3 separate regions of the Homo sapiens genome follow, and all the other regions are linked to region 1. Evidence: promoter capture Hi-C in 16 types of primary human blood cells and fetal thymus (Javierre and others, 2016). All regions are on one chromosome and are shown on one strand. The core of a region is centred on a gene start or on the middle of the fragment in contact, and the rest is flanking DNA. Distances in the headings are between cores, read along the strand shown.

Region 1 (3,683 bases), core at 139-2,638:
CTGGGTTGTGCCAGGGTGGAACTGTCACTTTATTTCACCTGGCCCACCGGACATGGGCTCCAGGAGGGCAGGGCCCCTGTCTGATTTCTCTCTGAATCCTCAGAGCCAGGGTAAAGTGGGCGCCAGTTAAATGTTTCAAGAATGAACAACTAAACCAGTCATCATTTTAGAGAACAGGCTGTTTGAGAGATTCTACTCAGAACCACTTATTTGATAGAGGAAGAAACAGGACTCAAGGAGAGGGGAAGTGACTTTGCTGAGAGGCAGGCACACTGTGTTTAGTCCAGAACAACATCAAGCCTTGGATGTTTAGTGCAGAGTAACATCCAGCACCCATCACGCAGTGCTAAGTCATTTACATTCACCATTTCCATTCTCAATGGGTAGAACAATCCCATTTTACAGAGGAGAACGTTAAGGTTAAGGAACTTGCTTTCCCCCCAGCTCTCTGCAGGCCAGCCCCACCAACCCTCCTTTCCTCAAGCCACATTCTCTCCCAACAAAATGAGTTTGCTCTGTTGTTCCCCGCCCGGGAATTCTCTAAAGTTTTAGTTCCAGCAGCCTTTGTAGCTGGGGGCCCTGATAAAATCTCTCCAGCACCCTAGAATTTCAATCTTCATAGCTCTGACCACAGTTTTAACGTTCACACTTGTTTGCATAGATATCCATTTGCTGTCGGTCTCCCCCCACTGGACTGTGAGCTGCACGGGGGAGGGCACCACATTTTTTGGCCTGCTACTGTAACCCCAGCACTTAGCCCAGCAGCGGACACTGAGTGGAACACGTTAAGTATTTGTTAGACACTGTGCTTATATTTTTAACCTTTGAGTGCACGAGTGCTAAAGGTGGGATCCGAACCCACGTCTCCGGGACTCTGGTCATAGCCAAAGGGGAGCTGGGGGTTAGGTTGACACGCTGCAGCGAGAACCGCCGGCGCGCAGAGGCAGCGCGGAGCTGTCCCCCCGGTTCGCGCCACCCCGGATGGCTCCGCACTCCGCCGCCACCTGTCGCCCCAGCGGGGACTCCCAGGACTCAGTTAGGGGCCAGGAGTCACGTGGGCCCGGGCATTCAGCCGCGATCCAGGTCCTAGTGGGCTGACGAGGGGCCCACGCTGCGCTTACCTGCTATTTGCAGGGCTCAGCAACGGCGCTCGGCGAGTCTCGGGGGACTGCGGGGGACTAGGGGACCTGCTGGGCCTAGCAGGGGCTGTCGGTCAGCGCGCGGCCCGGCGCCCGAGGTCCGAGAGGGAAACGACGTTTGGTCTCGGGACTCAAGGCTGCCTCCGGCCCGGGCAGCCTCAGGTCTAGATCCCCTAGTACCTGAGCTGGAGGCGGGGCCAAGGCGAACTTGACCTTGCGCTCCCTTAGCGGCCCCGGGCAGATGGAGTCTGAGGGAAACAGATCTGCGCCCCGCCCCTTCGCTGGGGCGGGCCCTAAGGAGACCCGGCCCTGGCCCCGCCCAGGGTCCTAAGCCCCGCCCTCTCCCCTGCCCCCGCCCCCGCCCGCTGGCTCCCAACCGCCAAGGCTCTTTTGTGTTGCGTGCGTGTTTGCTTTTTTATTCTCCTGTTTTGTATTCTGTTTGTTTTGTATTTTTATTTAATTTTCTTTTAAAAAAATACATGAAAGTAACGCCCACTTACTTATTAGAAAATAAAATTATCTAGATTTGCTTATAATGAAAGCAACAGGCCACTTCTCCCTCCCATCACAGCTCTTTTTAACAATTCCTCCGTTAATTTCTTCTAGTGGTCACCCGCTTGTCGCAAAAAAAAAATAAATAAATAAAATAAAAAAATAAAAAAAGAAACTTACATAGCGATTTCTTGATTTATCCATTGACTTTCTGCCATGTTATATGAGGATCTACTCTCTTACTGCGCGGCCCCTGTTTCCTTCTGACAAATTTACACCTCTATTCTCAAGCCCTGCCCTGGTAAACGCCAGACCTCAAAGCAGGGAAGGATTTCTGGGGCCTGAAGCATACACAGTTGTGTGGGGAGAAGGAAGGGAGGGCTGCTTAAGAAAGAGAAGACAGAATTAGGGCTTGCCAGTGAACATTTATTTGGAATGAGAAAATAAATCTTAACAGAATCCTGGGGTCTTAGAGATTGGGGTCCCTATCCCCTAAAACCTTCTTAGGAAATTTAGGTCCCAAATTTGCTTCCCTAACGCAGTCTGGCTTCCTCTGCCCACCCAGAACTCTCCATAAGCCCCCAGGGCTCATGGGAGCCTTGCAGAGAGAGGCCTTGAAGGACAAGATTCACTAGATTCTGCCAATACAGTTTCCTAATGGAGTGAATTGGAGTGTGCGAAAAAGAGAGACATCAAGGATGATGTCAAGGTTTTTTGATTGCTGTACACTTAATTTCCAGCGTTTCCTAGACACAGGAACACAACCTCATCTTAGTATGGAGAGTGTTTTATAAGCCTGTCCACATCACCAGAGCCTCACGGTGCACCCATGAAGTTGGCTGGACGGGTGCACTGTCCACAGTTTTAGGAGGCCCATAAATTTGTCCCTTGTGTATTAGCACCGGGGGCATGCAACTTGCACCCAATAAGTACCCAGGTAAATGGTACTTCCCCACTCAGTCTGAAGACACAGTGTCCGTGCCCTCTCGGATCCCTTTTCTCTTACCTGTGGTGTAAAATGTGGCTCCAGAAGGTGATCTTGGACAAGTCTCTTTACTTCCCAAGCCTCACTTTCCTTTCGTATAATGGGAGGTAACAACCCCTACCGCACTGAGTTTTGGGGAGGATTAAGTGGCTTAACATCTTTGGATATTCTTTAATTGATAAGTCAGCTTATTTCCCAGCAGGGTGGGAGGCTCATGAGAAAGCTTAGGGATTTCTGAGAATCTTGTGTAGCATGTAGTACCACAGGTTGATTAGAGGCCTTCGATTAAAATCGTGGGCTGAAGAGTCATTCTGGGTCAGGGCCCTAGGCCAGGGAGGGAGAAGCTGCACACAGAGAGCAGAGAAGAGGCTGGGCAATGACTTCCTCATGCAAGGGAAGCTTTCTCTGCCTGAGGTAGTGAAGACTAAAGCTTGGTCTAGGAGGAAGCCTGGTTTCCTAGGCAAGAAAAAAGGAATGAATTAATGGCATTCACAGCAACTGGATGAGATTGGAGAGTGTTATTCTAAGTGAAGTAACTCGGGAATGGAAAACCAAACATGGTATATTCTCATAAGTGGGAGCTATGCTATGAGGATGCAAAGACATAAGAATGACACAGTGGACTTTGGGGACTCAGAGGGGAAGAATGGGAAGGGAGTGAGAGATAAAAGACTACAAATTGGGTTCAGTGTATACTGCTCGGGTGATGGGTATACCAAAATCTTACAAATCTCCTCTAAGGAACTTACTCATGTAACCAAATACCACCAGTTCCCTAATAACCTATGGAAATAAAAATATTTTTTTAAAAAAGTAGCGTCCCCTTGTGCTGGAAGGTAAGAACCTCATATAATAGCCAAGCTTTACCTAACCTAAGCGGTGAAGACGCAATGGCTGAGAAATCCATTTTGGAGAGGCAACTACCTCCTAATTTTTTAGAAGGAGGAATACCTAAATGCAAGTCTTGTATTTGCTTAAGCTCACAAAAAGACTACTGGATTATGGGTATAATGGGAATAATATTTTCAGATCTCTCCTTTATTGGTAAGTTTCATTTCTCCTGGATC
Region 2 (3,781 bases), core at 69-2,568, 290 kb before region 1:
CCTTGAGCTAATGTGACTCTCTTCATGGGCCTCAGTTTTCATCATCTTAAAAAAAATCCAGCTACATGGTTTCTAAAGATCCTTCCATTTTTTTTTTTTTTATGTTTCTGTGGCATTCAATAGTGGAAAAAAGAGTCTGGAACTGGAGTTTAGTGCCAGCAGTGTGATCTTATGTAAATTGAGACTAATAATTCTAGTAATTGCATACTTTGCTTACTCTATGGAGTGACTGAGGATCCTGAGTTGAAAAAATTATATGAACTATACCTAATTTGCTTGAATAGTGGAACTTTCAATATTTCTAACTCCTGAATACTCTTGCACTTGAGAGAGTATTTTTGGATTTGGCACAGTACTAAGTGATACAAAATAAAATGATGTATCTCTATTGTCAAGGGGCTCAGCTGGGAATGCTTAAATCTTTGTATACCACTGGGCCACCTAAGGGTCTACCTAGCTGGTGTTGCGGGCCTGAACCCTCAAGTGTCATTCTTACTTGGACTATATCTTTTCTCATGTTTTCCACTGCAATTAGCCAAAATTAAGTCCTGCAATTGTAGACTGTAAATTCACTCTTTTAACCATTACATACTGAATGTGTACTATATACAAAGCACTATACTAGGTGCTGCCTTAAGATATTACCCATAGAATTTGGTGTTGGATTTTGGTTGAAATAAATTTTAAAGAAATAAAATTCTTAAATAGGAACTAATACATAACATTAAATATACACGTGTATTTCACTAGGCGTTCGACTGTGGGTTTAAATTAAAATCTTTTGTTTACTTGGTTTAGAGGAGACTGGAAGGTTAGGAAAAATAACCGTTGGGAAGAAAAGAAATATAGACAAGCTTAGCAGATTGGTAAAGGGTTTCCCAAGAGGTTGACTGCAATCGATTAACAGATCTTAAAGTCTTACCTAGTCAATTTCTATAATAGCTATTTCAGCCCTGCCTTTTTGCAGCAGCTGGGAGAATTCCAAGTGGGAATTCAGGTTGCAGTGCCTCTGTAAGTACCCTATATACACTGTTCCCTTCCCACCCTATTCCTACCTCTTCATAAGAAGTTGAGGAAAATAATTCGTTGAGAAAGAGTCAGGGTTTTTTGTTTATTATTTTATTTTATTTGTATTTATTTATTTATCTTGAGATGGTGTCTCACATTGTCACCCAGGCTGGAGTGCAGTGGCGCCATCTCAGCTCACTGCAACCTCCACCTCCCGGGTTCAAGCGATTCCCCTGCCTCAGTCTCCCCAGTAGCTGGGACTACGGGTGCACGCCACCACGCCTGGCTGATTTTTGTAGTTTTAGAAGAGATGGGATTTCACCATGTTGGCCAGGCTGATCTTGAACTCCTGACCCCAGGTGATCTGCCTGCGTTGCCTCCCAAAGTGCTGGGATTACAGGCTTGAGCCACCACACCCAGCCTTGTTTATTATTTTTAAATATACATGTGTTATCACTTAGCTAAGTGGTAAGTACTAGCACGAATAGGAACCTAGTTTCTCCCTTCAAAGGGGTTACAATTTATAAGCAGGAAAGGTTATTTATGCACAAATAATTGAATACCAGGCAGAATATGAGTACCTTCTGAGAGAAGTACCAGTAAAATACTCTGAAGATAAAATATCCAGCTAGGGAGATAAGTTTCATAAAGGAGGTAGAATCTGAGGTGGACTTTGAGGTGAAGAGTATACGGCATGTTTGAGAACCAAAAAAGGTCCAATTTGTTTGGAGAATGGTATTCATTTAGAAGAGCAGTGAGGGAGAAGGTTGAAGAGGAAGCTTGGGGCTAGAACCTGAAGATTTTTAAATCGGGAGAAATTGAGCTTTGAGTCAAGCAGTTGGGACTTACTGGGCCAGATAGGAAACCTGTTTATATCTGTACTCTAGATGATTTGTCTTTTGTTGATGTGTATGACACACTAAAAGAAGTTGAAACAGACTATATAAGTTTGGTGGAAGTGAGTGTGGAAATAACAGTAATAAGGAAAAATTTTTATTAAATGCCCACTATGTACCTACCTGCCATTGGAATATGTACTTTGCATACTGCAATTCATAAAGTAATACTAAAAGATAGGCATTATTTTCTCCAATTTATAGATGAAAAACAGAGGCTTAAATTGATTAAGTAGTATACCTCATGCCACATTGCTCATGACTGACAGACCTGAGATATGAACCTAAGTTATATTTAATGATACTAACATCTTTTTTTACTGGATTGTAATTTCTCCTTTTTTCCCTGAGAAGCTAGAATCAACTGGATACACAAATGCGTTTGTTGAATTGAGGGAGTGGGAGGCATCCTATTGCTGATGTTTTTAATCTAATGAACCCAGAAGAATATCTTTAATCAGAGGAAGATGTGGAGCCAGTGAATGATAGTGGAGCCAATGAAGGAACAATCAGAGAAAGAGAATCAGGAAAGAAGAAAAAGTGAAAGAAAAAGAAGTGGAGTCAGTGTAGGAACAATCAGAATAAGAGACCCAGAATAACTTTATGTCACAGAAGGAAAAGAAAGGGAAAATGTGACTGGGTGACTAGCATCTTGATAGCTTTAGAGAATTTAAGGAGGCTTAGTATTTGCCAAAACTATTGCCAATGAAATAAATGATTATGAGGACACTATCAGCCTTCAAAAAAGTTGAGTAATGGTAGGGAAGGCAAGTTTACAAAGGGTTTAGAAATTATTGGATGATAAAAAAAGTAGAGGTCATCAGTATAAACTATTTTACCAAGCGATTAGTGAAGAAAGGCAAATGTTGATGTGAGAGGTGTCTCACTGTAAGTGGGTTGACTGTTCCTGCATTTAGGGCATGCTTGATTTAATTATGATAGGCTCCAAATGGATGCAGGCCACTAAATGGACCTTTGTAGTGTGAGTAGGAACTAGCCAGGTAAATGTCAAGAGAGTATATCTAGAGCATTTGACTTTTCCAGAGAGCTAAGAATAGTTCAGCATGCCTGGGCCAGAGAGTAAGAAGGGGGAGGATTGAGAAATGGTATTAGAAAGATAAATGAGATTCAGATTCTGAAGATCCATGATAGCCAGTTAAAGGAGTCTGGACTTTATCCTGTAGGCTCTGGGGAACCATTTAAGAATGTTAAGTAGGGTAATCTTCATGCTCCATTACTGATACATCATCACATGTCAGTTACTTTTCCTGTTAGAGGAAATGTTAAGATTATCAGCCTGATTTCTGTATGAGGTGAATGAAAGCAAAAGTTTTGACCACATAGTCAAGTAGCAGCCAGCAGCAGACTAAATTGAGTTGGAGATCCACTGAACTGTCTTCCAAGAAAAATGGAGTTTGTGGTTGCCCAACACTTAGAGGCAAATGTTGGACTGATTGCAAAAGCATTGACCAACCACAATGTGCTGTACACTTCATGTGACTACCTTCTAAACATTTTAAATTTGTTAAATTTACTCCATGGGAGTTTGATGTAGAATTCCAGATGCAGAGGATGCTAACTTTTGTTTACCTGAAAGTGTAAAAATCCAGATTATTAGTAATGTGTTTGACTTGTGTTAATTTTACCTTAAAAATTACATTAACCTTATGTTTTTCTAATGAGTATTTTTAGAGGAGTCAAAGTTTAAAGTGAGCTTTGAATGAAACAAAGGAGGTGATTTCATAGATGGGAATTGCTAGACATTGTAAATATGGCAGTAGACTGGGGAGTTTGTTAGTGATCTCCACAGTTCTCCATCTGCGGATTCGTTCTCTACCCCACTCTTCACTCATGGGGTACAGACCCCATGGTAAGTC
Region 3 (3,597 bases), core at 698-3,197, 340 kb before region 1:
TGGCAATCATTTTCTGTTTCAAGTGTTCAGTTTGGTGTAGAATTGTAGTTCAGTGGATGCTATCAGAAGAAAAAGGACAGAGTGTCACGTGGAAAATTGGAGATAAACTGATAACTCCAGGGTTAGAGGAACTGACTCATCCGCCCCCACTGGCTTGTGGTGGAGGACAGTCTCCCTCCTTCTCTCTTTTGGGCCATATTCTGGCTCAGAAGTCAGTCTATGTAATTTCTGGAAGTGTCAATGTTTTTCTTCACCCCATAGAACACATGTAGAACAGAGCTTTTCCACCATAAGAGCTGCCAGGTACCTCAGAGTTCAGCCTTGTCACTGCATGGAATAAATTGGGTGGTCATGCGCAAGACCCATAACTTCAGAGCCTCAGTTTATGCATATAAAAGATGGGAATATCAGTGCCTGCCCTGTCTGCCTCACTAATTTGCCATGAAGACTAACAGGGCTGATGAGAAGACAGTGCACTCTGAGTGAGAGGGAAGGGGCTTGGGCCATCACATCTTCAACCATTCCTACCATTGTTCAAGGTTTTTTTGCTCAGGCAAACCCTCACACAGGCTTCCAGGAATGTCTTCTGATGTTTCCCCTCTTTCTCTGGAATTATCTCCTCTTCTGCACTGCTACTGACTGTCCCACTGCTCAGCAGGTTGCATCCCAGCCATGTGCCCAGCCCCAGCAGATACTTCAAACTGCTCATTCCTATAGCTCCCAACACAACCGTACCTCTTCTCGACCAATGATTTTGCTTTCCAGTGCTCAGAAAAAGGGACAGAGAGGCAGGAAGGCTCTCTGATTCTCTCCCCAAAACGTATCCACTCTAACCATCCTTAACTCCTGGCCTACTGGTGCAAAGGCTCCTTTGCATCTACTACCAATGCCTCCACTTAGAATCTTCATCCCCTGAAGCTTCCTCAGGGATCCACAACATCACTTGTCCCTTCTCGTTACTGGATCTTTGGTTTTTTCCTTGCTACCAGTCCCTTCTCAGCACACAAAGGGGAATTTCGGCCATGGAATTTGTGTCTCTGTAGGAACATGTAAGAGGTTTGGACTTTGAATAGGGGCCAGAAGAATAAAAACTCTGGGTGAAGTCAAAAGTGGGGTGGATGTGGACCTTTTGGGAGGCCTCAAGGATAGGGAATTGAAGACTTACAGAAGTCACATGAGTGTGGTTGCTGGAGACCGCAGGGGTTCTTGCGTTGTCCAGACTGTCACCTTTCTTCCTTGGGCTCTGTTCTTCCTCTCTCCATTCCTCTCCCTGACTTTTATCCCCTAACCCCATCTTGACTTCTAAAAGCTTAGGATAAAATATATCTTTTAAAAAACAGAAGTCCAGACCCTGTTAAATCACTGAGAGTGGGATAAGGCACTCCCCACTGAGGCATCACTATACTTTTGTTTTACAAATAATAGAAAACCATGCTTGCTCCACAGAGCTGGTGAAGATATGACCTAATGAATCCTAACAGTAGCTGCAGCCAGATAGCCTTGGGACTGTCAGTCAGAGGGCCAACCCTCCCCAACCCCCAGTGGTGAACAGAACCCCACCCAGGCCAATCAGCCTCTCTCACCAGGAACTTAGATTGGATGGAAGGCAGGGAGTTGGAACCAAGCCATTAGGACTGCAACCTCCTGGAGAGATCTCTTGAGTTCCTGCCTCTGGGGTTCTTGGAGCTGCCATCTTTCAAGTCCTTCCTGAGGCTTGGCTGTTGAGCTTTTTCTTGAATTCTGTGAGATATTCAGTATCCTTCCAATTACTCCCATTTCAGTTTTACTCAGGAAAGATTTGTTTCTTGCAACCAGAGTACTTCTGAATACCATCCTCAGAAAGTAACTGACTTGGGTGCCATGGCTCATGCCTGCAATTCCAGCACTTTGGTAGGCTGAGGCGGGCAGATCACTTGAGCCCAGGAGTTCAAGACCAGCCTGGACAACACAAAAATTAGCTGGGCATGGTGGTGTGCACCTGTAGTCCTAGCTACTTGGGAGGCTAAGGTGGGAGGATTGCTTGAGCCCAGGAGGCAGAGGTTGCAGTGAGCTGAGATCATGCTACTGCACTCCAGCCATGGTGACAAAGTAAGAAAGACCCTGTCTCAAAAGAAAAAAAAAAACGGAAAAGAAAAAAAGAAAGTAATTGACTTGCCACCACACAACCTTCTCACACCATCTTTATGAAACACCAGACATCAGATCCTGAAAGTACTTTATTCTCAAAGTTTGCAAGATAAGTATTGTCATTATGCCCATTTTGCAGGTGAGGTACTGGGGCTCTGAAAGATGTGGGCATCTGCCTGAGGTTATAGCTTAAACCAGGAATCTTCATTACTCCATATCAGTAAAACTCACTGTACCCCAAGTAAAAGAGGTCATTGAAAGGAAAGTGGGAAGCTCTCTGGCCAAGACACCACCTTTCTCCATCTCTCTCCGTACATATTCTCCCATCTCTGCTTCTGAGGATCTGCTCCATTTTCCTGCCTCTCTCTGCAGAGTGGCTTTTCCCTGCTCACTCATCAGTGAGCACATTGCTGAAAAAGGCTGCTTCAGCCCAAACCCTAAATACTTAGTTATTCACTTCAAGCTTCCACCGTCGACTATTCTATGTCTCATAGTTTGAATTATTGAGAAAAAATCTGCTTGGTGCCTGGTCATCTGGGGTAGGCTGAAGAATGCCCCCATACTTCCTCCCAAGTATAACTGCACTCTAATCCATGGAACTTGTGGATGTTACCTTATATGGAAACATGGTCTTTGCAGATGTGATTAAGTTAAAGATTTTAAAATGGGGATTATCTTGGATTATCAGGGTGGGTCAGTGATTATGCAATCACATACATCCTTATAAGAAGAAAACAGAGGAAGATTTGGCACAAATAGAAGAAGAGAAGCTGATGTGAAGATGGAGGCAGAGATTGAAATGATGCAGCCACAGGCAAAGGAATGTTTACAGTCATCAGAAACTGGAAGAGACAAGGGGCAGATTCTTCTCCAGAGATAGACTCTAAGGGGAGCAGAGCTCCCTTGATTTCAGCTCAGTAATACTGATTTCAGATTTCTCATGCGGAATTGTGAAAGAATACATTTTTGTTATTTTAAACCATAATATTTGTGGTAGTTTGTTATAGCAGCCACAGGAAACTAATGCTAATACAGCAGCCAATGGATTCATTCATCCTGCACTAAGTGTCCAATCAGCTGTGTCCAGGAGGATGTTTACAGGAAAAACATAGCCACTGAGGCCTGCTCCCTCAGCTATGGGAAGAAAGTAGAGGGTTCATTTTCAGAGAAAAGGCATGGGCTGGGAGACACCTGCATTCATCCTGCCACTAGTCTCTGACACCTGCTATCATGTAGGTGTAAGCATTGGGAAGTGCAGGGCAGCAGACTTGCCTAAATAGGCACCAAGCCTAGTGCTCTCCCTTCCCCTCCCAAATAGGGAATGAGTTCATAAACAGCACTGTTAATATTAATGCTAAGTTGGGGGAAAATAGCTGAGGCTGGAAGGTGAGTCTATTCATCCAGCTAAGTCAAACAAGAGTTTACTAACACCCTGTTTTCCCAGGCCTTGGGATAAGTGCTTAGCACAGG

What was found. The method cuts DNA at HindIII sites, captures the fragments that hold promoters and counts their contacts. A CHiCAGO score of 5 or more calls a contact.
Region 2: a fragment that was not itself captured here is called in contact with the fragment with the promoter of NMNAT3 in region 1 in 4 of 17 cell types (monocytes, naive CD4 T cells, erythroblasts and 1 more); the score reaches 6.2 in monocytes.
Region 3: a fragment that was not itself captured here is called in contact with the fragment with the promoter of NMNAT3 in region 1 in 1 of 17 cell types (naive CD4 T cells); the score reaches 6.6 in naive CD4 T cells.

Annotation. Positions count from the first base shown.
Region 1 is chr3:139,676,584-139,680,266 of GRCh38, forward strand. NMNAT3 (nicotinamide nucleotide adenylyltransferase 3) reads right to left here and starts at 1,389. Exons shown (of 7, transcript NM_001401600.1): 1 at 1,122-1,389. RefSeq lists a silencer at 1,443-1,492. The HindIII fragment of the contact is 2,876 bases long and covers 1-2,837 here.
Region 2 is chr3:139,391,114-139,394,894 of GRCh38, forward strand. All of the region lies in intron 1 of COPB2-DT (COPB2 divergent transcript), which reads left to right. Among named protein-coding and RNA genes, the nearest start is that of COPB2-DT, 3.2 kb to the left of the region's middle. The HindIII fragment of the contact is 933 bases long and covers 853-1,785 here.
Region 3 is chr3:139,339,405-139,343,001 of GRCh38, forward strand. It overlaps LOC124909439, which reads right to left and starts at 1,469. Exons shown (of 2, transcript XM_047449421.1): 1 at 1,166-1,469. The coding sequence starts at 1,294. The HindIII fragment of the contact is 1,281 bases long and covers 1,308-2,588 here.